4 separate regions of the Homo sapiens genome follow, and regions 2, 3 and 4 are each linked to region 1. Evidence: promoter capture Hi-C in 16 types of primary human blood cells and fetal thymus (Javierre and others, 2016). All regions are on one chromosome and are shown on one strand. The core of a region is centred on a gene start or on the middle of the fragment in contact, and the rest is flanking DNA. Distances in the headings are between cores, read along the strand shown.

Region 1 (3,657 bases), core at 381-2,880:
GCTGATGACCTGGAGCTTAGGGGTGTGCTGACCCTCATCTCCCTGGGGATTCCCAGGAGACGCTGCCCTACCTGTAGCTGCAACTCATGGACCCTGTTACCCAGCCAAGTGCAATGGAGGGCTGGCGAGGGAAGAAAGATCAAAGGAAGAAAAGAAAGGTTCTTTTTTATTTCAAGTATGAGAAAAAGAGAGTTCTACTGTGAGAACATCAACTCTTCTGTAGCTATTGATGTAGCCAAACTCCTGGAATGTAACTATATCTAACAGTGTTTCTCTGAGAAACTTTTACAGGATTGGAATGTGTGTAGTATCTAGTTAACCTGCTATTTTATTGCAAGTGATTTTTTCAAGTTATTAATTGAAATAGGAGTCTACCGTAAGTTGCTCTTAACTTGGGGAACTACTTTGAATGGCATTAATCTGGACCATTAATAACAATGTATACTTGGGGATTGTGTGTGTGTGTGTGTATACATGTGTGTGCATATATGTGTGTACACACACGTGCACACACACGTGCGCGCACACGTGCACACACACACGTGCACACACACACGTGTACACACACACGTGTACACACACACGTGTGTTACTGTACGTGGAGACTGTACATCTTAGGTCACACACCACCCCTGAACCAATCCTACAAACACCATAGGTGATACACACTGTCAAAGACAAAGAGTAGATGTCCACAATAGCTGTTCTTTCTCGTTTATAACACTTCTTTTACCTAGTAATAATCAGCTACCATTTACTCGATACATACTGTGTGCTGCCTCTTCAACCTTTTGACCATTTAAACTACAGGAAACTAGGTTATCTTCAGGTTACCTTAGTTATGGGAGTGTATGGAAAACATTAATGGGAAGGTGAAAGCGCAGCAAACCACTTCAGCAGTTAACAGAAAGGCTCTCAGAGCACTGGACCGCCAATCAGGACACAGCAGCAGCTCTGGGATTCGACCACAGATTCTCTGGCGTGCCCTTCGGGAAAGGGTGGCCTCGGGCCCCCTACTCTACAGAGTCTCCTCCCACGGCTGCCCAGTTCCCTGGCCGACTATCTTGCCTCCACCACATCACCATCAGTACCGGGCGGCTGCAGGGCAGAGCTGTCCAGGGACCTCCTCACAGCCTCCAGAGTCAAGAAATGCCTCCTCAGGGAAGCCCTCTACCGCATCCCTGACCTGTGAGTCACGGAGCTCCCGGGCACCATGCTGGCCACAAATGCCTAAGGAGCCCCCCGGAACCAGCTGTGGGTCCCGCAGGCACTCGCAGGCTAGCGGACACCTTTGGAGGACTGAGAGACCTGTCCTGCAATCCAATGTTCCTCACTCTCACAAGATTTTACAGACGTGGAAACCGAGGCCCGAGGCCCCAAGGGGTAATCGGCCCGCCTTCCCATGCCAATAACCGGCAGTGGCGGGACCCACACCTACTCCGTGACCTGCAGGCCCAGGGGTCGAGCCCCAGGTAGAACGTCTAGACGGACTCCGCCCTTAGCGCCGTACGGGGAACCTTCTCCCGGACGCAGACACGGAAGCGGAAGTGCTGCCGAGCTGTAGCTATGGAGACGTGGGGGGCGGGCCGCCCGGAGAGCGCGACCTTTGACCTGCAGTAGAGCCTACGTCAGAGGCTGGCGCAAACAGAAGTGCAGCGGTGGCGGCGGCTGGTTGCGGGCCGGCGGCGGGCTGGCGGAGATGGAGGTAACTCAGGTCGGGCCCACTGCCTCCCATCAAGCCTTCCGCGCCGCGATTTGGGATGTGGGAGTGGGCCCGATGGGAGGGCGCGGTAGTCTCCCTCTTGGTGTCCCGAAGCCCGCGCTGCTGTCGCCTCCCCATCTTTCGTAAACTCTATCCCTGGGGGTTACCTGCCCCGTAGAGCCCGTTTGTGTACGAATTGCCACAGCGACCGCCTCCGTCCGCCCTCATTCTCTGTCTCACGAGGCTTTCCACCACTTGATTCCATAGAAGGTTTTTCCCTGTAAGGGTTCTACGCGTTCCGTGTGGAATTAGGAAAAGAGTTCTTCTGACACCTGGGTTTGATTTTGTTTTGCAGGATCTTGTTCAAGATGGGGTGGCTTCACCAGCTACCCCTGGGACCGGGAAATCTAAGGTGAAGAGAATACTTGAATAGCGGGCTTCCTGAAGAGTGGAAGGGTGATGAATTGGAAAACTTTGGCATGGGGAAGGGGGGGGCGCTGATTTTTTTTTTTTTAATAGCCTTGCTCCAAGGGATCTCAATTTTAGTGTGCGCAATCGCCCATTTCCTGTTTCTCCCCCGCCCACCCCGATATAGAAAGACTTTTTGTTTGCTTCCTGCTCCTGGTTAGCACTGCTGGGAGATCCTGCTATTTTTCGAACATAAAGCAGTCTAAGAAGGTTTATATAGTGGTGTAGTGGAAGGAGCAGTGACATAGGGTAGGAATCAAGGGATTCTGATCTGTGGGCTCCAGTTTCTACATTGCCAAAGAGTTTAATTAGTCCAGTTTTATGGCCCTGTACAATGTTTAACATTCAATCATTCTAAATGATAGTGGTTTATTGCTAAGGTTTATTGTGTGCATGCTAAATTTCTGGCGCTTGCCTAACCACTCAGTTCCTTCGTTTAAGCTTCATGATAACCATGAGATAGGTACTGTTGTTACCCTCCTTTTACAGATGAGAAACCTGAGACCACAGGCTTAAGCAATTTTCTCAAGTGGTAAAGCTCAATTTTTTAATTAAAGCCTGAATGTTACCCGGTTCATCTTGCTGCTGTAATTATGCGTAAATTTTCTTGTGACCAAAGACTTGCAGCCTTGAATAGAATGAAATAATTTTACAGCTCCAAGGAATTTTAAGTAGCATTAGCTCCAACCTACTGATTTTACAATTAAATCAAAAGCTAGCAATGTCAACCTGTAACATTAGCTATAAGAGGATATGGCCTGGTTTTTACGTTTCATAGTAGTTGCATAACTAATTTTTAGTAGTTGCATAGCAATTACAGAATTGACGTTGCATTTGCTGATTTTAAAAAATGTGGCCGGGCGCGGTGGGTCACGCCTGTAATCCCAACACTTTGGGAGGCCGAGGCGGGCAGATCACCTGCGGTCAGGAGTTTGAGACCAGCCTGGCCAACATGGTGAAACCCCGTCTCTACTAAAAATACAAAAATTAGCCGGACGTGGTAGCGGGCGCCTATGATCCCAGCTATTTGGGAGGCTGAGACAGGAGAATTGCTTGAACTTGGGAGGCAGAGGTTACAAGTGAGCCAAGATCGTGTCATGCACTCCGGCCTGGGCAATAGAGCGAGACTCTGTCTCAAAAAAAAAATGTGGAACAAAGTATGCGGTTGGCATAAAGATTTATTCTGTAGAATGTTTTTGTTTTCTAGCAGACATTGTTTCTTTTTTGTGGTATACTAGAAACATGAGTTATAACAAGTTGGTAACATGACCACATCTTTCAGCTGGAAACATTGCCCAAAGAAGACCTCATCAAGTTTGCCAAGAAACAGATGATGCTAATACAGAAAGCTAAATCAAGGTGTACAGGTATTGGGTTGAAAATACTCATCTTGATCACAGTCTCTTTAATCGTGGTTTAAAATGGTAGTTTTTAAAATAATGCATTGGCTTGTTTTTGTTTGTTTTCCAGTGATTCCAAGTACACCT
Region 2 (3,657 bases), core at 477-2,976, 350 kb after region 1:
ATCAGATAGTTGTAGGTATGCGGCGTTATTTCTGAGGGCTCTGTTCTGTTCCATTGATCTATATCTCTGTTTTGGTACCAGTACCATGCTGTTTTGGTTACTGTAGCCTTGTAGTATAGTTTGAAGTCAGGTAGTGTGATGGCTCCAGCTTTGTTCTTTTGGCTTAGGATTGACTTGGCGATGCGGGCTCTTTTTTGGTTCCATATGAACTTTAAAGTAGGTTTTTCCAATTCTGTGAAGAAAGTCATTGGTAGCTTGATGGGGATGGCATTGAATCTGTAAATTACCTTGGGCAGTATGGCCATTTTCACGATATTGATTCTTCCTACCCATGAGCATGGAATGTTCTTCCATTTGTTTGTATCCTCTTTTATTTCCTTGAGCAGTGGTTTGTAGTTCTCCTTGAAGAGGTCCTTCACATCCCTTGTAAGTTGGATTCCTAGGTATTTTATTCTCTTTGAAGCAATTGTGAATGGGAGTTCACTCATGATGTGGCTCTCTGTTTGTCTGTTGTTGGTGTATAAGAATGCTTGTGATTTTTGTACATTGATTTTGTATCCTGAGACTTTGCTGAAGTTGCTTATCAGCTTAAGGAGATTTTGGGCTGAGACGATAGGGTTTTCTAGATAAACAATCATGTCGTCTGCAAACAGGGACAATTTGACTTCCTCTTTTCCTAACTGAATACCTTTTATTTCCTTCTCCTGCCTGATTGCCCTGGCCAGAACTTCCAACACTATGTTGAATAGGAGTGGTGAGAGAAGGCATCCCTGTCTTGTGCCAGTTTTCAAAGGGAATGCTTCCAGTTTTTGCCCATTCAGTATGATATCGGCTGTGGGTTTGTCATAGATAGCTCTTATTATTTTGAAATACGTCCCATCAATACCTAATTTATTGAGAGTTTTCAGCATGAAGGGTTGTTGAATTTTGTCAAAGGCTTTTTCTGCATCTGTTGAGATAATCACGTGGTTTTTGTCTTTGGCTCTGTTTATATGCTGGATTACATTTATTGATTTGCGTATATTGAACCAGCCTTGCATCCCAGGGATGAAGCCCACTTTGCTTTCAAAGCCTTTGCAATGTTGCTGTGGAGTTGTCTTGTGCCTGTGCCTCTTAAAGGTTGGTCTGAGACTTGGGTAACAGTTTAAAATCCTAATGCATTTCTCAAAGCTTTTGCTATGCTGCTCTGGGTGTTTTTTGTGCAGGTAAAGAGGCATTAAAGTGTTAGCCAAGACTTAGGTAATAGTTTTAAACTGAGCTCCATTCTCCAAGCGTTTGCTCTACTGCTTTTGGTCTGTCCTGTGCCCGCCTGAGCGGCTCAAAGTTGAGCCCAATTTGTACAGGTTCGTAAACACCAGAGTGAGAGGATCCTCTGTTTGAGTCTCTCTTCTGCGGGATTCTCCCCACACTCTGGCTCATAGAGGCCCCTCTTCCTGATTATCTTGCCAGGAAGACTGGTTTTCTCTCATTTCTTTAGTGGACATTTTTTAGAGCTTTAGTGGAAATTAAAAAAAAATTTTTTTTTAATTGTTTTAGAGACAGAGTCTTGCTGTGTTGCCCAGGCTGGAGCGCAGTGGCTATGCACAGACGTCATCATAGCTCACTGCACCCTCAAGTCATCTTCCTCCCTCAGCCTCCTGAGTGCCTGGGACTACAGATGTGCACCACTGTGCCCAGCTAGTGGAAGTTTTTGTTCTACTTCTCCATGTCTGGGACCCACCCTGAGGCAAAATGTTGAGAGAAGAGCAAAAACAAAAATGCAGGAAACTTTACCCTTGAGGGTTGCTTCTACAAGTTTTCTCTCCCATCACAATGTCCTCCCCTTTTTTCTTTTCACAGTTGTCAGTTAGTTGTTTTATGGTTTATTTAGGGCTTTTAGCTATAATCAGTGGGAGAAGAGTGTATTGAGCTTATCCTGCTGTGCTAGAAATGGAATGCATATGTTTTTAGTATCTTTTAGATATGGAAAAAGTTGGACAATGAAAATATTAGTTTTAAAAATAACTGTATTTGTGACTATATCCTAAGTTATTTAAGGAATCAATATAGTAATAAAGTCATACAAAGATTAACTTCTTAGAATATTGGATTTTTTTCACAGGGCTAAAGAATGCTTAGATTCTCTGATCTCTCCATTTTTGTCTTATTCTTGATTCTCTTTAGATTTGTGTATCTATTTTTATTAAGTATAAGGATAACTGCCTTATTTTCATCGTATTTATATCACTACTTGGAAGAAGGGAATTAATTCAATTTTTTGATTTCCTGTAGAAACTTGTTTTAAAGCTTTATAAGTAAGTTGAAAGTGAAAGGTGAAACTATTAAGTATTCACATTTAAAATCTAAAACATGCTATCCCATTTAAATGTAATTAGAGGGGAAGTTGATTTGAATTATTTATAGAACTGATTAAGAAGAGTCAAATAGTTTGGGGCTAAGAAATTTTATTATGTATCTAACATATTTTGAGATGAAAAGCAGGCATCAAAAATTTTAGCTGCTTTATGAGGACAAGAAATTAGTTGGTTTTATGAAAGATTTCTTTCATTTCTCAAAGGTAATGTAAATTATACACTTTATAAAGCCATAAATAGCTTATCTCTTGAAGAGTATCAGAAATTCTTTACTGTTTTATTATTCCATGATGTCAAAGAAAATATTTCCATGAGTTTGTGTGAGTGGATTTTTCTGAGCAGAAGCAGAAAATAGACTCATTGCTACTTTGTAAATGCTAATATGTTTTAATAAGTATGTTGTAAATGCCTTTGATGTTTTGTTGTTATCTTGGTAGATTGCATGGTTTTTATAAATTACTTGCCACACTAGTCACTTGTGCTTGCATACACTGATTAAAGTTTTTGTGATTGAAGGAGTTCTTACTTGTAATTAATTCACGTTCCATAGTATTAGTGATATACAGTCCTTACAAGTTTTAGATGAGAGTTTTTTTTTTCTCCTCCTAGCAGCATGATGCAGAAGTTGAACACTTAACCGAAGTTCTTAAGGAAAAGAATAAAGAAACCAAGAGACTGAGGTCCTCTTTTGATGCATTGAAAGAATTGAATGATACCTTAAAAAAACAGGTAAGACCTGTTTTAATATATACTGAACATAAGACATTCTAAGAAGTATATTTTATATATAACAAATTAAAGTCAGCCTTAGAACACGTTTCAGCTAGAGAAAATTTGGATTACATTTGTTAGCTTTATTTTAAAATACTTCCAAATGTAAATAAAGTATTCTTTAGCTCTTTGGTCTCTTCTCTTTATTTGTTCTGGCAACCAACTGACAAACAAAAGAAAAAAACCTGATAACCTGAGAACTGATTACATTTTTAGGTACTGATCTCTGGCTTTAATACTTATTATTTATCACTACTTATTTAACATTCATTTATTTTTGAGTATCTATTATATCCTAGGCATCATGCTAGACTCAGACCTTCACATTGCTCATGTTCTCATGGTTATAAACTGGTATCACATTGCAGTATACTTATTTATATAAGTATTGCAGGCCAGGCGCGGTGGCTCACGCCTGTAATCCCAGCACTTTGGGAGGCTGAGGTGGGCGGATCACGAGGTCAGGAGTTCGAGACCATCCTGGCTAACACAGTGAAACCCCGTCTCTACCAAAAATACAAAAAAAAATAGC
Region 3 (3,657 bases), core at 346-2,845, 310 kb after region 1:
TCACCTTATTTTTGTGTTAATAAGTGTGAATATTTAGAATATTTTAAAAATGGGAGTGGTGGTGGTGGATCCTTCATCGTTCTGTTTTAACAGAAATAGAACTGTAATGCCCTTGCTGACCCACTATGTGGTAAGTACTTTCAGGCCTGATACAGCTATATATATAACAATTGATTGAAGACTCAATATTACAGTGGTAGTTGAATGTGACAGCTTTGAGGACAGAGTGTTGGGGTGCATTTAGACCCTTGCTCTTCTGCTTATTTTGACCACAGGCAAGTTTCTTAACCTCTCAATGCATCAGTTGCCTCATATGTAAAATGAGGATAATAATAATACCTTAATTCATAGGGTTTTTGAGGATATTAAAATGAGATAATAATGTAAAGTGCTTAGAACAGTGCCCAGCTGGCACATTAATAAATGCTCAATAAATGTTACCATCATCATCATCATCATCATCATCATCATTAACATCATTTGATAAATTAGGAATGAAGAAGGTATTTATTTTATGACTTTAGCTGTAGATTTTAAGATGCTATACATAATTTTCATTATATGCCAAGTATATATGCAAGTATCTTTGTAGTAATGTGGTTTTCTCTTAACCTACTTATGCCTAGTGCTCCATTATTGGAACACTAAGCTTATGGGAGTTATTTATATCCTACTGCTCAAGGTCATTGCCAAGGTCTGATTTTTCACACAGAAAATTTGCAGCCTCTGGCATAAACGGGTTAATGATGTGTACTACATCCCCTAATGAGATCTTCTTCACTTCATATTCATGTTTGAAGTTTGTGAGAATTGGTTTGCATTTAGTTATCTGTAGTTTTGTAGACAATCTACAAAATGTTTTAACTTTCTGTCTTTTAGGGCCCAGTCTATGGCATGAATAGGCTTCCACCCCAACAGCATATTTATGCCTATCCGCAACAGATGCACACACCGCCAGTGCAAAGCTCATCTGCTTGTATGTTCTCTCAGGAGATGTATGGTCCTCCTGCATTGCGTTTTGAGTCTCCTGCAACGGGAATTCTATCGCCCAGGGGTGATGATTACTTTAATTACAATGTTCAACAGACAAGCACAAATCCACCTTTGCCAGAACCAGGATATTTCACAAAACCTCCGATTGCAGCTCATGCTTCAAGATCTGCAGAATCTAAGACTATAGAATTTGGGAAAACTAATTTTGTTCAGCCCATGCCGGGTGAAGGATTAAGGCCATCTTTGCCAACACAAGCACACACAACACAGCCAACTCCTTTTAAATTTAACTCAAATTTCAAATCAAATGATGGTGACTTCACGTTTTCCTCACCACAGGTTGTGACACAGCCCCCTCCTGCAGCTTACAGTAACAGTGAAAGCCTTTTAGGTCTCCTGACTTCAGATAAACCCTTGCAAGGAGATGGCTATAGTGGAGCCAAACCAATTCCTGGTGGTCAAACCATTGGGCCTCGAAATACATTCAATTTTGGAAGCAAAAATGTGTCTGGAATTTCATTTACAGAAAACATGGGGTCGAGTCAGCAAAAGAATTCTGGTTTTCGGCGAAGTGATGATATGTTTACTTTCCATGGTCCAGGGAAATCAGTATTTGGAACACCCACTTTAGAGACAGCAAACAAGAATCATGAGACAGATGGAGGAAGTGCCCATGGGGATGATGATGATGACGGTCCTCACTTTGAGCCTGTAGTACCTCTTCCTGATAAGATTGAAGTAAAAACTGGTGAGGAAGATGAAGAAGAATTCTTTTGCAACCGCGCGAAATTGTTTCGTTTCGATGTAGAATCCAAAGAATGGAAAGAACGTGGGATTGGCAATGTAAAAATACTGAGGCATAAAACATCTGGTAAAATTCGCCTTCTAATGAGACGAGAGCAAGTATTGAAAATCTGTGCAAATCATTACATCAGTCCAGATATGAAATTGACACCAAATGCTGGATCAGACAGATCTTTTGTATGGCATGCCCTTGATTATGCAGATGAGTTGCCAAAACCAGAACAACTTGCTATTAGGTTCAAAACTCCTGAGGAAGCAGCACTTTTTAAATGCAAGTTTGAAGAAGCCCAGAGCATTTTAAAAGCCCCAGGAACAAATGTAGCCATGGCGTCAAATCAGGCTGTCAGAATTGTAAAAGAACCCACAAGTCATGATAACAAGGATATTTGCAAATCTGATGCTGGAAACCTGAATTTTGAATTTCAGGTTGCAAAGAAAGAAGGGTCTTGGTGGCATTGTAACAGCTGCTCATTAAAGAATGCTTCAACTGCTAAGAAATGTGTATCATGCCAAAATCTAAACCCAAGCAATAAAGAGCTCGTTGGCCCACCATTAGCTGAAACTGTTTTTACTCCTAAAACCAGCCCAGAGAATGTTCAAGATCGATTTGCATTGGTGACTCCAAAGAAAGAAGGTCACTGGGATTGTAGTATTTGTTTAGTAAGAAATGAACCTACTGTATCTAGGTGCATTGCGTGTCAGAATACAAAATCTGCTAACAAAAGTGGATCTTCATTTGTTCATCAAGCTTCATTTAAATTTGGCCAGGGAGATCTTCCTAAACCTATTAACAGTGATTTCAGATCTGTTTTTTCTACAAAGGAAGGACAGTGGGATTGCAGTGCATGTTTGGTACAAAATGAGGGGAGCTCTACAAAATGTGCTGCTTGTCAGAATCCGAGAAAACAGAGTCTACCTGCTACTTCTATTCCAACACCTGCCTCTTTTAAGTTTGGTACTTCAGAGACAAGTAAAACTCTAAAAAGTGGATTTGAAGACATGTTTGCTAAGAAGGAAGGACAGTGGGATTGCAGTTCATGCTTAGTGCGAAATGAAGCAAATGCTACAAGATGTGTTGCTTGTCAGAATCCGGATAAACCAAGTCCATCTACTTCTGTTCCAGCTCCTGCCTCTTTTAAGTTTGGTACTTCAGAGACAAGCAAGGCTCCAAAGAGCGGATTTGAGGGAATGTTCACTAAGAAGGAGGGACAGTGGGATTGCAGTGTGTGCTTAGTAAGAAATGAAGCCAGTGCTACCAAATGTATTGCTTGTCAGAATCCAGGTAAACAAAATCAAACTACTTCTGCAGTTTCAACACCTGCCTCTTCAGAGACAAGCAAGGCTCCAAAGAGCGGATTTGAGGGAATGTTCACTAAGAAGGAGGGACAGTGGGATTGCAGTGTGTGCTTAGTAAGAAATGAAGCCAGTGCTACCAAATGTATTGCTTGTCAGAATCCAGGTAAACAAAATCAAACTACTTCTGCAGTTTCAACACCTGCCTCTTCAGAGACAAGCAAGGCTCCAAAGAGCGGATTTGAGGGAATGTTCACTAAGAAGGAAGGACAGTGGGATTGCAGTGTGTGCTTAGTAAGAAATGAAGCCAGTGCTACCAAATGTATTGCTTGTCAGTGTCCAAGTAAACAAAATCAAACAACTGCAATTTCAACACCTGCCTCTTCGGAGATAAGCAAGGCTCCAAAGAGTGGATTTGAAGGAATGTTCATCAGGAAAGGACAGTGGGATTGTAGTGTTTGCTGTGTACAAAATGAGAGTTCTTCCTTAAAATGTGTGGCTTGTGATGCCTCTAAACCAACTCATAAACCTATTGCAGAAGCTCCTTCAGCTTTCACACTGGGCTCA
Region 4 (3,657 bases), core at 965-3,464, 270 kb after region 1:
ACAAATGAACTGTATTTGCAACATGGTAGGGAATATATGACATTGGACACTAATGCAAATGGAATTTTCAGTGCCTTGGTGAAAATGTTATACCACTGAACAAAAAAAAAATGTAGTGTAAAATGAAGTAAAATGTGAAAATCCCTAATAAATGCAGAAATATGAACTGCTTATCCAAAAGAGAAAAGTCTTTTGAGTTCCTCAAGAAGATTCTCTCTTTGGATGCTGGGCGCGGTGGATGCCGGGCACCTGTATCCGAGCACTTTGGGAGGCCGAGGCAGATGGATCACTGGAGGCCAGGAGTTCAAGACCAGCCTGTCCAACACGGTGAAACCCCGTCTCTACTAAAAATACAACAATAACCCGGGTGTGATGGCATGTACCTGTAATCCCAGCTACTCAGGAGGCTGAGGCACAAGAATTGCTTGAACCTGGGAGGCAGAGGTTGCAGTGAGCCGAGATTGTGCCACTGCAGTCCAACCTGGACCACAGAGTGAAACTCCGTCTCAAAAAAAAAAAAAAAAGAAAGAAGGAAAAAGAAGGTTCTCTCTTTGGGCACTCCTTTTCGATATATTCAACATAAATGGATTAATGATACCATTTTTACTAGGTGAGTATGTTTGGGCAAGTTGCTTCAGTGCTCATTCTCTTGGTTTCCTTTTTTTTTTTTTTTTTTTGGAGACAGGGTCTTTCTCTGTCACCTAAGCTGGAGTGCAGTGGAGTGAACATAGCTCACTGCAGCCTCCAACACCTAGCCTCAAGAGATCCTCCTGCTTCAGTCTCCCAAATAGCTGGGACTACTGGCAGGCACCACCATGCCTGGCTAGTTTTTAATTTCTTTTTTTTTGTAAGCACAGGGTGTTGCTATGTTGCCCAGGCAGGTCTTGAACTACTGGGCTCAAGTGATCCTCCCACCTCAGCCTCCCAAAGTTTTGGATTACAGGCATGAGCCATGGTGCCTGGCTGTCTTTTGCTTTCCTTATCTGTAAAAACTGAGGATAATAACAGTACCCTTACAAAGTTGGTGGAAGAATGATATTAATACAAATGAAGTGCTAACAGAAAGAGCTTTGGAACACAGCAAGTACTTGTTAGCTATGGCTATTGTTATCAACACACTTTTCAAGGCAAACTTGTGGTTTCACCTATCACCTGAGATATATGACTTTTAAGTCCATCAGATCTTCTCTTTTGGTTTTTATTTTTAAATTAATTAAATATTATTATTATTATTATTTTGAGACAGAGTCTGCTCTGTTGCCCAGGCTAGAGTGCACTGGCACGATCTCAGCTCACTGCAACCTCCACCTCCCAGGTTCAAGCAATTCAGGTGCCTCAGCCATCCAAAGAAGCTGGGATTACAGGCATGCACCACCATACCCAGTTAATTTTTGCATTTTTAGTAGAGATAGGGTTTCAACACGTTGGCCAGGCTGGCCTTGAACTCCTGGCCTCAAGCAATCAGCCCATCTGGGCCTCCCAGTGTGCTGGGATTACAGGCGTGAGCCATCGTGCCTGGCCCTCTTTTCGTTTTAGAGATAGGAATCTCATTCTCTTCCACAGGCTGGAGTGCAAAGGCATGAACATAACTCATTGCAGTCTCCAATCCTGGGCTAAAGGGATGTTTCCCCCTCTGCCTTTGGAGTAGCTGGGCCTCAGAACTGTGCCGCAACTACTGACTTCCATCAAGATCTCTGTCCTACCATTTCATCTTCCTACTAGGCTATCCCCACATGGATATATAAATGGTACCTCAAGTGAAAGAAATCAACTACCTAAAATAGGATTTTCCACTCCAAACTAGATTTTCTTTACATGTCATTTCTGTTAATGTGGGTCACACACACTGGTAAGCTCAGAATCATCTTTTTCTTTTCTTTTATTCACATCCAATATTGTTGAAATAAAACAAAATGCTGTTTTTCCTTTTTTAGAAAGGCAATACTTGTTCATTATATCAAAATTTAGAAAATATGGAAAAACAAAAAGGATAAAAAATTATCCACAACCAAAATAGCCCAAATTTCCAGTTAAAAATGTCAACGCATTTGATATTTGTCCACATAATTCAGACTGTAATGTTTACACAAATGTGAGCTTTTAAAATCTAAAAGGTTCTCACTATTAAAAATGTTTTGTTAAATTTTGTTTTAAAAGTAAGATTTTAATATCCAAATTCCCAAAATAGACATTTTTGAAGATTTGGAAAATACAGACGGCTCAAAATCTTTACATTATTACTGTTAAATTTTGGTATGTTCTGTTATTCTGCTAGTGAAATATATATAGATTTGGGGGGGCTATTCCTTTTCCTTTTTTTTTTTTTTTTTGAGACAAGGGTCTCACTCTGGTGCCCAGGATGGAATGCAGTGGCGCTATCACAGTTCATTGTAACCTGGAACTCCTGGACTCGAGGGATCCTCCCGCCTCGACCTCCCAAAGTGCTGGGGCTACCAGCTTAAGCCACTGTGCCAGGCGAATGGCTATTCCTATATACACAGTTGACCCTTGAATAACATGGGTTTGAACTGCCTGGGCCCGCTTATAAGCCGACAGAAAATACAGTATTGGAGGGGCCTGCATATAGAGAGGTCTGACTTTTCCTCTAAGTGTTCCACCCGCAGGACTGACTGCGGGATTTGAGAATGCGCGGACTTCTTCTTCTTCTTTTTTTTTTTAGGAAGTCTTACTCTCGCCCAGGCTTGAGTGCAGTGGCGCGATCTCAGCTCACTGTAACCCTCGCCTCTCAGTTTCAAGCGATTCTCGTGCCTCAGCCTCCCGAGTAGCTGGGATTATAGGGGCCCACCTCCACGCCCAGGTAATTTTTTGTATTTTTAGTAGAGATGGGCTTTCGCCATGTTGGCCAGGCTGGTTTCGAACTCCTGACCTCAGGTGATCCGCCCGCCTCGGCCTCCCAAAGTGCTGGGATTACAGGCGTGAACCACAGCGCCCGGCGGAATGCGTGGATTTTGGCATAAGACGGTGGTTCTGGAACCAATCCCCCGCCGAGATGACTGTTTAAAAAATTGTAATTGTCCAAAACTTAATATTTGTGGTCTTTTTCATTATGCAGTTCTAAATCTCCCTTTTTTTTTTTTTTTAAATTCAGACGGAGTCTCCCTCTGTCGCCCAGACGGCGCAATCTCGGCTCACTGCAACCTCCGCCTCCCGGGTTCAAGCGATTCTCCTGCCTTAGCCTCCGGAGTAGCTGGGACTACAGGCGTCCGACACCACGGCCGGCTAATTTTTTGTATTTTTGGTAGAGATGGGGTTTCCCTGTGCTAGCCAGGATGGTCTCGATTTCCTGACCTCATGATCCGCCCGCCGTGGCCTCTCAAAGTGCTGGGATTACAGGCGTGAGCCACCACGCCTGGCCCTCATTTAATAAGATATGAATTTAAAAATGTATGCTTTAGTATTCACACATGTCCGATGCAACGTATTTAACCAGTCATCTCCAGAAACTTTGTTCCAATTTACACGTTCACCAAATTGGCCTGAGTGCTTTTTTTCTTCCAATGCATTGCGCACTTATAATTTAGAACAAGTGACCAAAACGCTTAAGAGCCCATCACGCAAATTGTTATCTGCTGGAAATCTACGCCCTAGGCTGTGGACACTGGCGGCCGAAATCTGATCCCGGCTTGCCAAGACACC

Evidence for each region. The method cuts DNA at HindIII sites, captures the fragments that hold promoters and counts their contacts. A CHiCAGO score of 5 or more calls a contact.
Region 2: a fragment that was not itself captured here is called in contact with the fragment with the promoter of GCC2 in region 1 in 1 of 17 cell types (monocytes); the score reaches 6.0 in monocytes.
Region 3: a contact is called between a fragment that was not itself captured here and the fragment with the promoter of GCC2 in region 1, in 5 of 17 cell types (naive CD8 T cells, total CD8 T cells, total CD4 T cells and 2 more). The highest score is 6.8, in naive CD8 T cells.
Region 4: a contact is called between a fragment that was not itself captured here and the fragment with the promoter of GCC2 in region 1, in 1 of 17 cell types (total CD4 T cells). The highest score is 5.0, in total CD4 T cells.

Annotation. Positions count from the first base shown.
Region 1 is chr2:108,447,576-108,451,232 of GRCh38, forward strand. GCC2 (GRIP and coiled-coil domain containing 2) reads left to right here and starts at 1,631. Exons shown (of 23, transcript NM_181453.4): 1 at 1,631-1,705; 2 at 2,058-2,114; 3 at 3,453-3,537. The coding sequence starts at 1,700. RefSeq lists enhancers at 571-1,553, 1,458-1,717, 1,554-2,535, 2,621-3,121, 3,122-3,622. The HindIII fragment of the contact is 5,578 bases long and covers 1-2,609 here.
Region 2 is chr2:108,801,926-108,805,582 of GRCh38, forward strand. CCDC138 (coiled-coil domain containing 138) reads left to right here. Exons shown (of 15, transcript NM_144978.3): 7 at 2,964-3,083. It also overlaps a transcript of RANBP2 not described here. Among named protein-coding and RNA genes, the nearest start is that of CCDC138, 17 kb to the left of the region's middle. The HindIII fragment of the contact is 1,116 bases long and covers 1,169-2,284 here.
Region 3 is chr2:108,762,358-108,766,014 of GRCh38, forward strand. RANBP2 (RAN binding protein 2) reads left to right here. Exons shown (of 29, transcript NM_006267.5): 20 at 880-3,657. Among named protein-coding and RNA genes, the nearest start is that of CCDC138, 23 kb to the right of the region's middle. The HindIII fragment of the contact is 1,896 bases long and covers 648-2,543 here.
Region 4 is chr2:108,715,690-108,719,346 of GRCh38, forward strand. No RefSeq gene overlaps it. Among named protein-coding and RNA genes, the nearest start is that of RANBP2, 2.0 kb to the right of the region's middle. RefSeq lists an enhancer at 2,736-3,657. The HindIII fragment of the contact is 8,304 bases long and covers 1-3,657 here.